Linked DNA regions of Homo sapiens: all the other regions are linked to region 2. The links are contacts of gene promoters, found by promoter capture Hi-C in human tissues and cell types (Jung and others, 2019). All regions are on one chromosome and are shown on one strand. The core of a region is centred on a gene start or on the middle of the fragment in contact, and the rest is flanking DNA. Distances in the headings are between cores, read along the strand shown.

Region 1 (3,514 bases), core at 959-3,458, 410 kb before region 2:
GAATTTGCTTTCAAATAATGTGAGATTGTGACAAAAATGGGTGGGCATCAGATGAAACAAGATTGGCCATATGTAGAGAATCGCTGAAGCTGGGCAATGGGTACCTTGAGGTTCATTGTGCTGTTCTCTCTAGTTTGTTGTACAGTCGAACTTTTCCACATATAAAGTTAAAAAGAAGGAGGAGGAACAAAAGAAGAAGTGTTAGCCAGGCAGAGAAGAAAGCGAGAGGACATCCTGTGTGGCAGGAGCAGCATGCATAGGCAACAAGACCCAAGAGAGCCCAGCATGGGGTAGGGCAGCAAGACCCAAGAGAGCCCAGCGTGGCTGTTCCTCACTGTAACCAGAGTGCAGGCAGGAAGGGGAGGGCGCACAGAGGCAGGCACAGGCCAGGTCACGGAGGGCTTTGTTGCCATGCTACAAAGTCTGCACTTCATCCTGAAAGCATGGGAGCCATGGATCAGAATCACATTTTGAAAGGTCTTTCTGGAGACAGAGTGCACTCAAAGAGAAGGAAGACAGGAGGCAGGGGGTTCAGTGGGGAGGCAAGAGATGATGGAGGCCGCAAACACAGCAATGGTGAGGGGATGTGAGGAAGCTAATCTCAGCTATGTTAGGAAGGTGGGATGAAGGGAACGTGGTGAGGGAAAAAGGAAGCGTCAAGGCTGATGTCCCAGTGTCTGTGGGGTGGGAGAGCCATTCCTGAAGAGGGAGAAGGCGGGAAGACAGAGAGCTGCACCATCCCTGATCCCTGGCCTCTTAGGCCTAGGACTGGCTACAGAATTTGCAGGGCTTAGCGCAAAATGAAAATGTGCTCAAGAATTACTAAAACTTTCAAGACGATGACAGCAGAGAATTAAACCAAGCGTAGGGCCCTCTGAGCATGGGGCCCTGGAGCACTGCAGAGGTCAGACACCATAAAGCTGCTCCTGCTTTAGCCAATGTACCCTTTTCTGTTTAGAAGGAACAGGAGAGGGGCTGTATGAAAGCCAGGCCTCCTGCTCACAGCCCCAGGCAGTAAAAGAACAGTATGTTCCTTCTGCCACCCTCCGGGACCTAAGTGGGACCCAGAAGCCTGGGACAAATAGCTTGCATTTGTGTAGATCTTTACAACATTTCCCAGACTTGCTTGGGTTTTCCTTGGTGCTGGGATAAAATGAAGAAGCAGAAAGTACTAGCCAGGCACTTCAGAGAGCAGAGTGCTACAGTGACTTGTTTATCTCCCCAAAGAGATTTCCCGGTTTCTCCAAAAATGGGGTTTGCTACAAGCTTCCCAGTATGAGTCACCAGACCAGTTGGCAAAGCATTTAGTTCTGCTGAGAGCAATGGAGTTGACCCTTCATTGGCCGAGAAGATCTGCCACAAGAACCTTCATCCCCCTAGTGATGGGTTCTGCATAACCCCCAGGCAGAAGCCAGAATGGCGCTGACTGTGAAGTCTTAGCTATTGCAGGCTGTGTTGCATGCCCTCACCTCAAAACGCCTCTGTCTTTCTCTACTTGCAGTGAATGCAGAAGCCTTGGTGGTAGGGGTAAGGGCCTAGGTGAAACACAGACACCGCTCACCGTGCCTTCCTTTCTGGTGCCTCTTGATGGCTCTTGGCAGGCTTTTGAGGTCAGGCCACCTTCCCCCATTTACCATCCCTTTCACTAGAAACCCTGGTCCTTAAAGACTCAAGGCAGGCAAGAACCCTCCCAGCCTTGGCAGAGTTTGGTGACACATGCAGTGTAAGTGCCCAGCCACCCACATCTGCACATTATCCTTGTCTTTTCCAGAAGGTTTCTTTGCTCCCCTTCCCTACAAAGACAGAGCAGGCCCTGAGATGGTGGCGTTCACTCCTCTTGTAAAGCCTGGTCTCCCGCAGGACTGCATCAGAAAATGCCCTTTTTTTCCCAGGTTCACAAACCGCTGCCCTTTTCTTGGCTGCCATTGCGCCACTCCGACCCCTGGAGATCATCTTGGGAGGTAAAAATGAATCATGGCGTTTCTGTTTATGCTGGAGCTGGAGGCAGTGCCTGAGACCCTTTGGCCCTCTGCTCAGCACTGATGTTTATCACCGGGGCTGATGTGTAATTGCTGGAACAGAGCCAGGCGAAGGTCAGGCTGCGAGGCAGGTCCTGGGCACAGCACAGCCGGGCTGAAGACTGAGCACAGTGACGGGGAATCCCCTCCCTCCCACCTCTGGCCCCATCCATCCCTCCTCCCCACACCACGGCCTGATGCCTCTTGGTTTTTAATTTTGTTTTGTTTTTGCTGTGAAACTCAGTTATTTAAAGACAATTTTGTTTCTTTTTCATAAAACAGCTTTTGTTGGTTTTTGTTTTGTTTTGTTTTGTTTTGTTTTTTGAGACAGGGTCTCTCTCTGTTGCTCAGGCTGGAGTGCAGTGGCATGATCACGGCTCACTGCAACCTCGACCTCCCTTGGCTCAGGTGATCCTCTCACCTCAGCCTCCCAGGTAGCTAGGGCTACAAGCACATGCCACCACGCCTGGCTAATGTTTGTATTTTTTGTAGAGATGGAGTTTCACCATGTTGCCCAGGACGGTCTTGAACTCCTGGGCTCCAGCTTCCCCTCACCCTGACCTTCCAAAGTCCTGGAATAGATGTGCCTTTGTTGTATTTTTCTGATCATAAAAGTAGTTCAAGCCAGGTGTGGTGGCTCACACCGTAATCTCAGCACTCCGAGAGGCCAAGGTGTGTGGATCGCTTGAGCCCAGAAGTTTAAGACCAGCCTGGGCAACATGGCGAAACCCCGTCTCTACAAAAAATACAAAAATCCGCTGGGTGTGGTGGTGCATGCCTGTAGTAGCAGCTACCTAGGAGGCTGAGGTGGGAGGATCACAAGCTGGAGGAAGTCAAGGCTGCAGTGAGCCGTGTCACACCACTGCACTGCAGCCCAGAGGAGAGAATGAGACCTTGTATCAAAAAAAAAAAGTTCAGACATTAGACACTGAAAGGCTTCGGATGGGTCTGGCCTTCAGCAAGGTCCCTGGGGCTGCCGTGCAAGGATCGCCCTGGAGGAGGTCAGCGAAACCGAGAGGAGGTTGTTGCTATAACCCCATGAGAGGTGATAGTGGCCTGGACCAAGGGAACATCTGTGAGGATGGAGGAGAGGGATTGATCTGAGTGGGGTTCAGGCTGTAGTATCTGTGTGCAGGTAACGAGGGAGTATATAATAGGTCGATTTCCCAGCCTTCCCCCAAAATCACTTGGGCTACTGGTAGGGAAGGGTGAGTGAGTGCAGAGCGGGGTGCAGAGGGGTCCACGTTGCCTCCCCACAGATCCCTCCTTTCCTCTTCCCAGCCGGGTTCTGATTGGAGTCACTGGGTGTTTAGAGGAGCCACTTGCCCAGATAGGGAATAGTGCAGGGGTCGGCAAGGCAGTGGGGGAAGATAAGGAGTCCAGTTTTTGAGGTACTTTGGGGCACACAAACCAAGATATTCATTAGACGGTACTACCTTCCTAGTAGTGTCTGGCCCAGAGATCCAGCTTTGAGAGACATCAGTACGTAGAATGCA
Region 2 (3,655 bases), core at 56-2,555:
ACCTCTGCCTCCTGAGTTCAAGTGATCCTTCCACCTCAGCCTCTCGAGTAGCTTGGATTACAGGCACACACCACCACGCCTGGCTAATTTTTTTAATTTTTTTGTAGAAACAGGGTTTCACCAGGTCTCGAACTCCTGGGTTTAAGCAATCTGCCTGCCTCGGCCTCCCAAAGTGTTGGGATTACAGGCGTGAGCCACAGTGCCTGGCCAAATACTTCATTTTCTAGATCATAAGATGCTTAACTTTATTCCTGGCAAAAAGTTGATTCAGCAAACCAGGGCTTTAAGTGAAGCCGGTTGGGGCCTGAACCCTTGACACCTGCCCAGGGTGGAAGACATAGCAGCTGCATCTATGGGCCACCTGGGGTGTAGGGTGACCAGCTGGAGGCTGTGAGCTTCTCTGCTCCCTGAAATGCCTGCACGGGGCACTCAGGAAGGGCTGGGGACTGGGTGAGGAGGTGTGGACAGAATGTCCCCTGGAAACTGCCCCAGGGGCAGCTTGAGTGGCCTGAGCCTGTGTCTGTCCTACTGAAGGTTGGAGCCCCAGAGAAAAGCCTCTATGGAGGCACCCACTTTTCAGAACTGCTGCTTTTGCGGGAGAACACCTTTTTCCAGGTGTTGTCCTTAGGGTAGCAGGGAAGACTGGGAAAAACTGAGGGGCAAGAGCTGTTGGAGGGGGGAGTTACATTTATTGAGTGTCTATTACATGCCGGGTGCTGCTGAAGGTCTGCGGGTCCTACCGGATCTCCTTTTAGCCCCTCACATCCCTGTAGATTACACGCCGTTCACAGATGACCCTGAACCCAGAAGGGCTGTCTAGGCCCAGGGCCCAGCTAGTGAGTGGATGGGCAGAATCAGACCTGCCCTGGAAGGGTCTGTCTTACCCTGGCGCCCAAAATGTGTCCCTCACCCTCTGCCACCAGGACAAGTAAATTCGAGACACCCTTTCGTTAGGGGCTCAAGTTTATCATGGGTCTGACCTCTAAGGTCATATCTCCGCCTTCTCACCTGACAGACAGGAAACTCCTGAAATGCCCCTCGCACGTGCAAGACGTTTTCCGCGGTGGCGGCGACAGGGCGCACAGTGGGACCGCAGCACGAGCTCGGAGCACCCCCAGAGTCGGCGACTCCTGCCCCCGCCCCTGCCGGCCGGCCTTCCCGGGGCCTAGGAGGGCAGCACCGCCGGGCTTCGCGCCATGACATCAGCCCTGGAGTGGTGCAGTGTGCAAAGCCCACTGGTTGGCGTGGCCCGGGACACGCCTTCCGCGGAGCGGAACAAAACGGCGCGCAGGCCGGGCGCACCCAGCCGCCACTTCCGAGAGCGCCTGCCGCCCCTGCGCCGCCGAGCCAGCTGCCAGGTGAGTGCGCCCTGAGTCGCGCGGCTCTGCCCGCCGCGGAGGGGCGCCTGGGCACGCACTCAGCGCCTCCCGGTCTTGCCAGCCCCGCCGCAGCCCCGGGGCTGTCGCAGGCGGGGAACTGTGAGAAGTGACCGCAGTTAGCCCGGGCAGTGCTGCTCTTTTCTGGAGGCACTAGGTCCGTCCCCATCCCGGGCCTTCCTGGGCTTCCTGGACACAGTTGACTTCCGCGTGTGCGTGACCCAGGGCGACCCGGCTCCCCGCAACCGCCTGCAAGTCGGGCAGAACAATCGGCGATTCTGCGCGCCACTGACGCTCATTGTATGGCAGAGAGATGAGGGCATCCGTGCCACCCCCTCCCTCACCCTCCTGCTGGGGAGAAAATGCCCGCGGGCGGGGTGGGGCAAACATCTGGGCCTGACCTTGGACATCTGTGTCCCTGAGCGCAGGTGTGAGTTTTCCCTCTTGTGAAATAACTGCATGGAAACCTCTCCACTCCAAATCTTGGTGCTAGGTGGTGATGGTTACTGAAACCTGAAAGAGCCTGCAGTCAGTGTTTTGTGGCCTCAGTCCTTGAAAGCTGGGAAGTGATAAAGGGGCTGGTATTGAGCACATTTAAAGCAAATCACAATGTGTTAGCTAACAATCAGCCCTCTGAGGCAGGTATTGTATCTACTGGTACAGACTAGAGAATATTTTGCATGCTTCTGGTTCTGGTGCTGTTGTGAACTAACCAGGACCCAGGAATCGGCTGGAGCAATAGTGGGCTCAGGCTCTGCCTAGAGCCCTGGGCTCCAGCCACCCACCAGCTGCTCCCTGAGAGTGAATGAATGGGCAGGCTCTCCCCACGCTGGGATACTATCACAGTGGCACCGAGGAAATCCACTGGGCCCTGGTAGAAAGTATATCAGTATATCATGAAGAGGTGGCTTGGAGTCTTGGTGGGATTGTTTGGAAGGCAGAGTTTTGACTCTTGGATTTGCCACTTAACGCGCAGGTTTCCTTGGACAAACTATTTAACTTCTCAATGTCTCAGTTTCTTTCAGGGATGCTACTTGGGGAGCATATTACACAGAACCTCCAACACAGGAGTGATCTCTCAGTTACTGTCTTTCTTGTCCTCCCCTCATCCCTTGCCTTCCTCCCAGAAGCTAAGGAGGCTGGAGGTGCTGGTTGTCTCCCTCTGTCCTCTCAGACTGCATGTTGGGGATTTTCCCCAGGTGGGATTTGGGGATGGGTACTGAGCCTCCCCTCAACTGCTCTCACTCAACTGCTGCCTCCTGACTCTCCAGCTGGTTTCTGGCTACCTCTTTTGAGAGAGACTGTCCTCAGCCCTCAGCTGCTGGAGGGCAGCTTTTACCCATTGTTTCCTAAATCCAGCCTCCTCCTGCTCACGGTCTTCCAGTGAATGACTCTTTGCCTTGGAGAGGATATCCGGGGCGGAGGCAGTCAGACGAGGAAGGAAGTTTATCCTGCAGAGGGTGTAGTGTGGGTTAGAGGAGAGGGAGGAGAGAACTGTCTGCAAGGCCTGAGATGCCCAGGATGGAGGGTATGGGGAAGAAGAAGCAGGAGAGAAACTAAAGAGAAGGCCCATCAACTCTGCAATTGGCCTGCTAATAAAATGGGAAAAACAGGGGTGCTGTGGCCTATTTGCCTGTGGTCTGTCTTAGCACCTGCCTTCCTGGCCCAGGTGTTTGCTCTTTTAATTGCACACATGTGCATCTGCCTCTGGAGCTAGTGAGTCCTGACTGGGCCAGAGTTGCAGCCTGGGAGTGTAGTGACACTTGACTGAGTGATCAGCAAACATTTGATGAATGAGTGGGGTAGCAATGGTCTTTCAGCTGAGTTGGCCTACGGGATACTCATAAACCTTGCAAATAGTTACTAGCCAGTTTTTCCACTTGGGTAGATTGACAAGCAGGTGAGAGAAAAAAGGCGTAGGTTTTTTTTGGGCTTTTTTGTGTGTTTTTGTTTTGAGGCAGTCTTGCTCTGTCACCCAGGCTGGAGTGCAATGGCGTGACATTGGCTCACTGCAACCTCTGCCTCCTGGGTTCAAGCGATTCTCCTGCCTCAGCCTTCCAAGTAGCTGGGATTACAGGTGTCTGCCAATATGCCCAGCTAATTGTTTGTATTTTTAGTAGAGACGGCATTTCGCCATGTTGGCCAGGCTGTTTTTGAACTCCTGACCTCAGGTGATCCACCTGCCTCGGCCTCCCAAAGTGTTGGGATTACAGGCATGAGCCACTGCGCCCGGCCTGGTGTTTTTTTTTTTTTTGGAGACAGCGTCTCACTATATTGGC
Region 3 (3,611 bases), core at 1,094-3,593, 260 kb before region 2:
ATAGCTAGGGAAGCCCAAATTCAGATTTAAATCCTACAGACTGGTTACATGGCGTTATTAAAAAATCAGAAAAAATAGTCATCACAATTTTGGAGGCTACCATTTTAGAGTATCTGTTGCAACACCTAGGTAATGAATTCTTACTCAAACCCAACTGGGAAGATTATGAAGATTACTACCACGAATTTTGTAAATATTTCCTGGGCCGGGTGTGGTGGCTTATGCCTGTAATCCTAGCACTTTGGGAGGCTAAAGTGGGCGGATCGCCTGAGCTTAGGAGTTCAAGACCACCCTGGGCAACATGGTGAAACCCCGTCTCTACTAAAATACAAAAAATTAGCTAGGTGTGGTGGCACGCGCCTGTCGTCCCAGCTACTCAGGAGGCTGAGGCACAAGAATTGCTTGAGATTGGGAGGCAGAGGTTGCAGTAAGCTGAGATGGCACCACTACATTCCAGCCTGGGTGAAAGAGCAAGAGTCTGTCTCAAAAAAAAGAAAAAAAAAAAAAAAAAAAAAAGAATATTTCCTGAAGATCAAACCCATCCAAGAAAATTATACTCCAATGCTCTACTGTACCTTGATCATTCTGTTCGATGCTGAAATAATAGATTTCCACCATTGCCTTTTTCTTTTAAGTCACTCAGTTATAGTGACTGACAGAGTTCTGTATGGCACTTAGAAAGGAGTTAAAGCAAATAAACACAGGGACATGGCACCTCCAAGAATATAAAAGGCCACCCTAATGTGCCCATAGAGAAAGGACTTCTGTTATTTCTGATGATTCTTAATATAATGGAAAAGTGTGAAAACTTGTCTGCTTGGTTCTAAATCTAGTTCACCTCAAGGCTTCCTTGCTGAAGTTCTAGCCACCTTCAGCATACCCACTTTAGCTCACTCTCCTTTCTGATAAAGGTTCAAGTGTTTTTAATGGTGGCAATAGGGCCATAGGTCCAGACCTAGGCAGAACCCCACTCAGTCAGAATAAAGCCATGCATTTCTGTGCTTGTTCTTCACAGACGCCATCTTGCCAGTGGCAAAAGAAAAGTAACTGGTCTGGAGAACCGAATGCCCTTGCAGTTATACATAAAATTCTATGCATGTGCAATCTTCTGGTATCTGATCATACTTTCAGATTCTCAAATGTGTCTATGACTCAGAAAATTTTCTTTAAATTATCATCTTGCCTCCTAACACCCTGCTTTAGGCATTGCTTTCTTGATTCTGGCATTGAATTTTTGCCCTAAGGTTAAGAGAGTTTCTTAAATTTAGACCATTGTTATGGAATAAATTATGTTCCCCCCAAGTGTATGTGTTACAGCTGTAACTCCCAGTGACTGTATTTGGAGATGGGGCGTTCAGGGAGGTAATTAAGATTAAATGATCTTATAAGAGTGGAGCTCTCATCTGATAGGACTCGTGTCCTTATAAGAAAAAGGAGACACCAGAGAGCTCTCTTTCTGTGTGTGCACAGTTAAGGCCATGTGAGGACACAGTGAGAAGGTGGCTGTCTACAGCCAGGAAGAGAGGCCTCATCAGAAACCAACCCAGATGGCACCTTGATTTTGCACTGCTGGGCTTCGGAACTGTGAGAAAATAAACTTCTATTGTTTAAGCCACCTGCCCTGTGGTATTTTGTTATGTCAGCTTGAGCAGACTACCACAACCATTAAGTTACGAAAATAAGCTTATTTTATCTACATGTCAATATCCCCCATTGAACTACATTGGATATTGACCACCTCTATGATTCAGGCTAGTTTTCAATTCAGATTTACTGCCATCAGATTTTTTTAAATCATGATATCATAGGTTATTATAGGAAAATTAAATACCCGAATCCATCTGCTAGGCACAGTAGAAGCTATGGATTGAGAAAATCAAGGAGTCAGGCAAAGTGGAAGGAATTATCATTGCTGCTTGGACTTGGCAGCGAAATAATCCCGGAGAAATTCCATCTTTCTGTGATGAAATCAGGCTCTATATGTGCTCCTGTAATGACATGATACACAAGTATTCAGCCCTGCAAACAGCTTGGATAGCACTTTGTGGAACAAAATGGATGCAATTGGATTAGAGGTATCAATATATTTTATTGGGATCTTAATGTGGGAAAGGGTAATTGCAGGGTAGTAGAGGAGAGACAGAGAAGTGAGAATATAGAAGGAAAGACATGAGAGACTGTTTCCAAGCCGTCGGTTAAAGCTTTGCCATGTCAGCTGGCAGGGCCAGAGCAAGAAGAAAGAGCAGAAAGTTGAGCTGTTTAACGGGAGTCTCCTTAATTAGGACCAACTGTGGGTGAGGAATGCTGACTCGGCTGGCCACAATTTGTTTGAGTTTTCTCTAGTTTCAGAGATTTCCCTTTTTGTCTGCCCCAAGTCTTTCCCCTCCTGTACTTCTTTCACAGGAGTGGGAATGAAAAAACAAGGCACCTTCCTCTCTTTTTCAGATGTTTCCAAGTCAGGAAATTGAAATCCTTCAAAGAGTGAAAGATAACTGAGAATCTCAAGAAAAGCAAAAAATTCTCAGGGATACCATCAAATTCACCTTCAAAAGATAAAAGGCAGTCCTCTAGAGCAAGCTCTGGAGTACTGAGTATGTACTTCTATCTCTACTAGTCGCTATTACTACAGTTGAGTTAGTGTACTTGTCTTAGCCTCAATTTCCCCAAGTATAAACAGGTAATTGAACACCCACTAATCAAAATCTTTAGAAAGTTTGAACATCAAGGAAAATGATTTTGATTCTTAACTTGGTCAAGAAAACATCTTGAGGAAAACTAAAAAGTCACAAAATTAAGGTGTCAATTGATGTGAGTGACCTTATTTTGAGTTTCCATATTTTTATTGGAGAGGGCCTGAAGGAGGCTCTAAGAATAGTCAGTAGGATTCTGTTCAGAACCAACATTTTTTTTTTCTCTTTCTAAAACCCACATAGATGTCCCATTTTAAGGATTTTTGGAAAGGGATGAAAATGATATTTGATTTTAAATTTCATGAGATAATTCCTACTTCCTCACCACTGTCTCACCCATATTCTTCCTGCAGTGTTTCCTTAGGAGTCCACTGCACAATTCCAAAATCCCTAGCTAATTGAAAAGAAATGTAGAATAGTGTCTGCATTTCTGCACCTTCTCTAAACCAATAAGGAAGTAAGAGATAATTGACAATACTCCGAAAAGTAGGAAAAGTTTGGCTTAAGGGTCCAGAGTAGGGGTTGGCCAGATAGTAAATATTTATGAGGCTTTGCAGGCCATAAAGTCTCTGTCACAACTACTCAATTCTGCCATTGTAGCACAAAAGCAGCCATAGATAGTATGTAAACAAATGAATCCGGCTATGTTCCAATAGAACTTTATTTATGTCCACTGAAATTTGAATTTCACATAATTTTCATGTGTCACAAAATATTGTTCTTCTTTTGTTCCTTCCAATCATTTAAAAATGTGAAATCCACTCTCAGCTTGCAGGCCATACAAAAACAGGCAGTGGACTGGATTTGGCCAAGCAGGCCAAAGGTCACCAGCCCTGGGGCTAGACCAAAAAAAGAACCCCTAAAAATGAAAAGAAATAACAATTCCGTAACTGACAAGTCCTGGGCAAAAAAGCAACTCTG

What was found. The method cuts DNA at HindIII sites, captures the fragments that hold promoters and counts their contacts. A contact is called where the count stands out against the background at its distance.
Region 1: a contact is called between a fragment that was not itself captured here and the fragment with the promoter of CSRP1 in region 2, in 1 of the 25 tissues and cell types used here (neural progenitor cells).
Region 3: a contact is called between a fragment that was not itself captured here and the fragment with the promoter of CSRP1 in region 2, in 4 of the 25 tissues and cell types used here (bladder, heart left ventricle, hippocampus and 1 more).

The regions. Positions count from the first base shown.
Region 1 is chr1:201,915,343-201,918,856 of GRCh38, reverse strand. The region is part of intron 1 of LMOD1 (leiomodin 1); the gene reads left to right. Among named protein-coding and RNA genes, the nearest start is that of SHISA4, 28 kb to the right of the region's middle. The HindIII fragment of the contact is 6,571 bases long and covers 1-3,514 here.
Region 2 is chr1:201,504,773-201,508,427 of GRCh38, reverse strand. It overlaps CSRP1 (cysteine and glycine rich protein 1), which reads left to right and starts at 1,305. Exons shown (of 6, transcript NM_004078.3): 1 at 1,305-1,358. CSRP1-AS1 (CSRP1 antisense RNA 1) reads right to left here and starts at 1,215. Exons shown (of 2, transcript NR_160747.1): 1 at 1,009-1,215. RefSeq lists a silencer at 974-1,603. The HindIII fragment of the contact is 18,281 bases long and covers 1-3,655 here.
Region 3 is chr1:201,762,287-201,765,897 of GRCh38, reverse strand. All of the region lies in intron 7 of NAV1 (neuron navigator 1), which reads right to left. All of the region lies in intron 2 of IPO9-AS1 (IPO9 antisense RNA 1), which reads left to right. It overlaps LOC124904483 (a long non-coding RNA gene), which reads left to right. Exons shown (of 2, transcript XR_007066790.1): 1 at 1-3,611. Among named protein-coding and RNA genes, the nearest start is that of MIR1231, 45 kb to the left of the region's middle. The HindIII fragment of the contact is 4,715 bases long and covers 1-3,611 here.